Linked DNA regions of Homo sapiens: region 1 is linked to region 2. Evidence: promoter capture Hi-C in 16 types of primary human blood cells and fetal thymus (Javierre and others, 2016). All regions are on one chromosome and are shown on one strand. The core of a region is centred on a gene start or on the middle of the fragment in contact, and the rest is flanking DNA. Distances in the headings are between cores, read along the strand shown.

What was found. Contacts are between HindIII fragments. The CHiCAGO score rates a contact against its expected background, and 5 or more counts as called.
Region 1: a contact is called between a fragment that was not itself captured here and the fragment with the promoter of NXT1 in region 2, in 1 of 17 cell types (neutrophils). The highest score is 5.3, in neutrophils.

Annotation. Positions count from the first base shown.
Region 1 is chr20:24,953,650-24,956,349 of GRCh38, forward strand. All of the region lies in intron 1 of CST7 (cystatin F), which reads left to right. Among named protein-coding and RNA genes, the nearest start is that of CST7, 5.7 kb to the left of the region's middle. RefSeq lists an enhancer at 1,599-1,728. The HindIII fragment of the contact is 3,090 bases long and covers 1-2,700 here.
Region 2 is chr20:23,349,498-23,352,197 of GRCh38, forward strand. NXT1 (nuclear transport factor 2 like export factor 1) reads left to right here and starts at 1,294. Exons shown (of 2, transcript NM_013248.3): 1 at 1,294-1,564. It overlaps NXT1-AS1 (NXT1 antisense RNA 1), which reads right to left and starts at 1,970. Exons shown (of 3, transcript XR_937384.2): 1 at 1,833-1,970. RefSeq lists enhancers at 295-1,167, 876-1,015, 935-1,229, 1,168-2,039, 2,096-2,145 and silencers at 586-715, 1,336-1,605. The HindIII fragment of the contact is 12,471 bases long and covers 1-2,700 here.

The DNA.
Region 1 (2,700 bases), core at 123-2,622, 1.6 Mb after region 2:
CCTACCTGTCTCAGGCATGGCCCACCTCCCCTCCCACCCCGCATTAGAAGCAGTGGTGGGCTGGGGTCAGGCTGCCCCGGCAGGCTCCTGGTGCGAGCCTCGCACATGGCAGGTCCCCCATTCCCCTCGAGCAGGCCTGGCCTGCCCCAGGCATTGTTTCTATACAGACGGATTTTATGTGCCTTTTGTTTCTTCTCACAAGCCTGACGGTCCGTGGGTTCTTTCCGTTGACGTCATCGCGGCCATCACCACCATCACCCTCTGCACCCAGCAGCAGCCTCCAGCGGGGTCTCCCCAACTCTTCCCAGCACGTAGCTCCCTCCTCCCCTAGGCCAGTTCAGCCACCTTGCAGCTGCTCCCCCATCCCCTGCCCCTCTGCTCACCCATTTTACCCTCAGGTTGGTGTCCTCTCCTGTGCCCCAGGCCTGCTCTGCCTCCCCACCACTGTGGGCGGGGCCTGTCTTAGAGTCCACCCTGCATCTCCCCTAGCACCTGCCAAACAGTCCGTCTTGAATGAGGAAAAAGTGAGAGTGGTGTTTCGAATTAGTCACACCTGGGTTTAGCCCCCCACCCTGCACTCCAAGCTCTTGGTCTCCTCGCCTGCAGAATGGGCACACATGAGAAGAAACAGCATCGCAGGGCCCTCCAGACAGAGCAGGCAGAGGAGGAGAGCACCCATTCTCCCGCTCCCTGCCTTCAGTTGCACGGAGCAAACCCAGAGCCCCCTCCCTGGGGGGTCCTCTTCACAGTTCCTTGACTCCATCGGAGGCTCTCAAAGAGCTGCATTCGCTCACCACCTGCTGGACTGCTTGTTTTCTTCCCTGAAGATGAGTGGCCTCTTTGGGGTGTTAATTCTTAATGATCAACATTTCCTTGTTAATTTCTCTAAACAAATCATCCTAAAAATAGGTTTGACTTTTAAACAATTTTAAATTAAAAACTGAGCTTTTAATATCTGTTTAGACAACTGTAAGACAGTGAAAGGTTTATTGACTTGAAGCCTACATTTTAGGAAACATGTAGTTAAATAAAAAATACCAATTTCAGTATTTTTCATAACCTTTTTGTAACTTTACCACAATCTTTTAGGAACTAACGTCATGAGCTTGGAAGGGAAATTTATTTGAAGTTCAGCGTAAACTGAGTTTCACTTCATTTTTAAAATTCTGTTAATCTCAAGCAAAAGTAAATACATTTTATTTTTTAAAAAAGTTAATAGTGGTTAGCTTTAAGATATTAAAAATAATTATTTTTTGTTATGCTCCTCTGTATTTTTCAAATTTCTACCAAAAATAGGTAAGTTTATAGTCAGAAAAAGCCATAAAATGTAGTTTTTACAAAGAAAACAATGGACAGCCATATTAATGTAATGTGAGGAAAGAAAGCAAAACAACAACAACAACAACAAAAAAAAACGCTAATCTGACAGCAAAAATACACTGAACACATGCTACCCCTTCCATACACGTGTCTCTTTCTCTGCTGTTCAGATGACAGTGATGAGCTGAAACCAAGCTGGTTTCCAGAACAGTTTTTTGTTTTAACTAAAAGCCACATTCAACTTCCTGTCATCAACAAGCACAAGGACCAGAAGGAGCTGCCTTTGGCTCTGGGGACCCCTCCTTCCTGATGGTAACACTGCAGGTCCCAAGGGACCCCTCACTGCCAACACCAGTGTCAGAGTCACCTGAGAGCCTGGGGAAATGCAGGTTCCAGGACCTCCCCTAGATGGCCAAGCTCAGCCCCTGGTGCTCAGGAACAGAGCGGTTTCTATTCCATCTTCAGAGGCCTAAAGTCTTTTTTTTTTTTTTTTTTTCTGAGACGGAGTCTCGCTCTGTTGCCCAGGCTGGAGTGCAGTGGCGCGATCTCGGCTCACTGCAAGCTCCGCCTCCCGGGTTCACGCCATTCTCCTGCCTCATCCTCCCGAGTACCTGGGACTACAGGTGCCCGCCACCATGTCCAGCTAATTTTTTGTATTTTTAGTAGAGACCAGGTTTCACCGTGTTTGCCAGGATGGCCTCGATCTCCTGACCTCGTGATCTGCCCGCCTCGGCCTCCCAAAGTGCTGGGATTACAGACGTGAGCCACCTAAAGTCTTCTTAAGCAAAGGCTGCAGCAGTTTCAGGGGGGATGTGTGTGACACTAATTAGTGTGAAGGACAGTCCCAGGGCATGCCAGCGCAGGACACAGCTATCCACCAGCACACAGGACCAGCACGTGGCCAGCATTCTCTATGGGGTGGGGCACCAGCACTGCGCTGCTTTTTTGGGATGGAAGGCCAGGCTCCCTGGGCTGCTAAAGCACAAGGCAGGCACAGTCATCCAAAGCCCAGCCATGAAGCTCACCTTCTGGCCCAGAACCAACCACGGGACAGCCATTTGCCAGGTGGCCTCCCTTCACAATGGAGACTCTTTACCGGGATGGGGCGACAATCCCAAGGCCACAGAACTTCCAGTCCCATGCTTCTCTGCCCACTCCCGGCGCTGCACCACCCAGCCTGGGGGTGCCACGTGGTGACCAGAAACCTCGTCATCCTGTCTACCCTTGGTGGGGTCTGGTGTGCACCCACAGACATCCAGGACCCAGGAAAGGCCTCTTGCAGACCTCACACAGCAGTGGGAATGGCCTCCTCTGGGGCCCTCGCTCTGAGTTGACACTGACGTCCTGGCAAGGCCTCCCTGCAGTGCCCAGCTATGAAGC
Region 2 (2,700 bases), core at 44-2,543:
ATCCAAGTATCACTGCCTTGGGGTTCAAAAGGCCATGTTAGTTCACAAAGCCCCGAAAATGCTCTTTCACACTCTCTGCTCAGCCTCCAACGTGTCTTTTTAATAATCCAAACTTTCCACCTACTTAACTGAAGTGTGTGGGGGGAGAGGGTGCGGGGGGGAAGGGGTGGCCTATACTAAATAGCCCAACTGTTTTCCACTTGTCCTGAAATCTGAGACCAAGATTCTCTTAGGAATGCAAGCAAAGGGAGCCGACGGGACGCCAAGAAAGCACAGGTTAAACTACCTCACTTCATCTAGCCCCATTTCTCTCCTGGCTTTTCAATTAATTATTCAGCCTCAGACCAGCAGATGGAGCTGAAAATGTTGTCTAAAGAAATGAGGTTTTTCTTTTAATTTACAAGCTATAGTTTCTCATGCCTCCACACTGAATGGTTACATCCTGTTGAGCCTGTTCGTAAAGTTCAGTAAAAATCCAGTTCTCATTCCAGAACAGCTGAATCGTAGCTATGAACGCGGAAGAACAGAGTCCCAACCCCAGCCGGGCCCGGGTTTCCCGGGGCCCCTCAAGCCTCAGGGCAGTGGAGAGCCGCCGTCACGCCCCCGCCTCCCCCACGTCCCACCCTCGCCCCAGTCTCCTCCCACTTTTAGCTACTTTTCCCATCTGACTAAAACTGGCTTCCTCCGTGTCCACCAAGATGTCGCCTCTAAGTGGCCTAACTCCTAAAGAGCGCGATCGGCTCAAGCACTCCGCCACGCGGTTTCCACGGGGCGCGGCCGGCGTTGCCCTCGCCGTGGCCTCAAGCATTGCGGCGCCCCACATGTTGCCAGACGGAAGGCCTCGGCGGGGTCAGGCAGCTGCTGCTGGCCGTGACTACATCACTGGTGACGTTTCACGAGACTTTTAACTGAAATCACTCCAATACAGGCGCATGCGGGACGAGGGGAAAGCATCTCACCCGACCCCACACACCTTCCCCTCCCTCTCCAGCCTAGCGGCCTCCGCTCAGCGGAAAAAAAAGCAGACGCTACTCCCCGCTCTAGGTGCGGGACCTAAGAGGTTTGGCCCAATCAGGCATCCCACCTAACCAGACGGGCCGGAGTCTGTGGCCCGGTTGGACCAACGAAAACTCTAGGGCGGATTTGCCGGGATTTCTGGGAAAGTGACACTCCCGGAAGCTACCGCCTCTTATAAGCCACACATGGGCGGAGTTAGCCTTCCGGCCCGCAGTCCCACTGGCTGACTTCGCTGCCCGTCACGGGAATGCGGGAGAGGGCGGCGCCGGGGCGCTCGCGTCTGCGTGGAGACCGGCTGGCCGCGCGCGGGAAGCCGCGGAACTGCGCCGGAAAGTCCCCCGGCTCTGGGGCCCCGGTGACCCAGAGTAAGCCTCCAAGAAGGAGGAGGAGGAGAGAAAGGCGGCTCTTCCCGTGCCCCTACCAGAGGCTTCGGTGGGCCCACCTTGTGACCTCCGCGGCCGGCCCCTCAGTGGAACTGCGTCCCACGCGGGGGGCGTCCCGACCGTGGGGGCCGCGGCCCGCGCTGACCCTGGACGTCGCCGCGCAGGTACGTTGCCGTCCCCCGGCGGTCTGACCCCCGAGACAGCCCCTAGTGCATACCCCACGCCCTCCTCCATTGTCGAGAATGAGACACGGCTGTGCCTTTGTCCACGTGGTAGAGTTGCCGCCGCGGTGAGGCTCTCGCCTGTGCAAAAAGCGTGGCAGCGAATTCTCATCAACGAGGGGAGGCGCGTCCCCTCACAGCGCAGCTCTCGGGTCTGAGGAGGGCCGGGCAGGGCGTGCGTCTGTCTAGGTTTGAATTAAAGGCGACTCACAGGAAATAAGGCCATGCCACTGTGGTAGCTTTTCCCGTCCATCTCCGGACACTCGACGGTGTGGGTCGTGCGAGGAGGCGGCAGTCTTCACAGCCTCTTACTCTAGTCCTCACGGTCAGGTTCTTTTTCTGATTTGACACAGACAGCGGGACTGACGACCTCATAGGTAGCTGAAAACCGTAAGTGGAGATGGTCCTTCTATGGTGTGTGGGGGCGTGGCCAGTTGTTAGATTGTGTTTGGAAAGACAGCCAGGGGCGGAGAAGAGGGGCATTTCTGAGATGATGGGGGGACTGGTGCCATGGAGGGAGGAGGAGTGAGGTGGAGATCGGGAATTCCAGCCAAAGAGAAATGGGGTCCCTGGGAGAAAATTCCCACTCTAGCAGTCCTGGAGTTGTGCTCATGGAGACTTGCTTACGCGAGTACAAGGACAGCGTTGTATTGACAAAATTTCAGCCCTCAGTCTAGTCTTGTAAACGATAGATCAGGAGTGTACTTAACCGTCGTTACTTTGATCCAGCCCTAGGTTTCCCTTTTCTCATTTGTAAAATTGTTATAGTAATACCTTTTTCATCCATTTGTGGTAACATTTAAATGAGGTAATTTGTGTGAAGCCCTTAGCAAACACAGCGCTTCTTAGTCGTGGGTTCCGCGTGGGGTGGATTCAACCAACCTCAAATCAAAAATATTCTTCAGAAAAAGAAAAATGCGTTTGTACTGAACATGTAGAGGCTTTTTTTTTCTTGTCATTATTTCCTAAACTATACAGTATAACAACTATTTACATCCCATCTACATTGTATTAGGTATTATAAGTTACCTACAGATGATGAAGGTATATAGGAGGATGCTGCGCATAGGTTATATCAA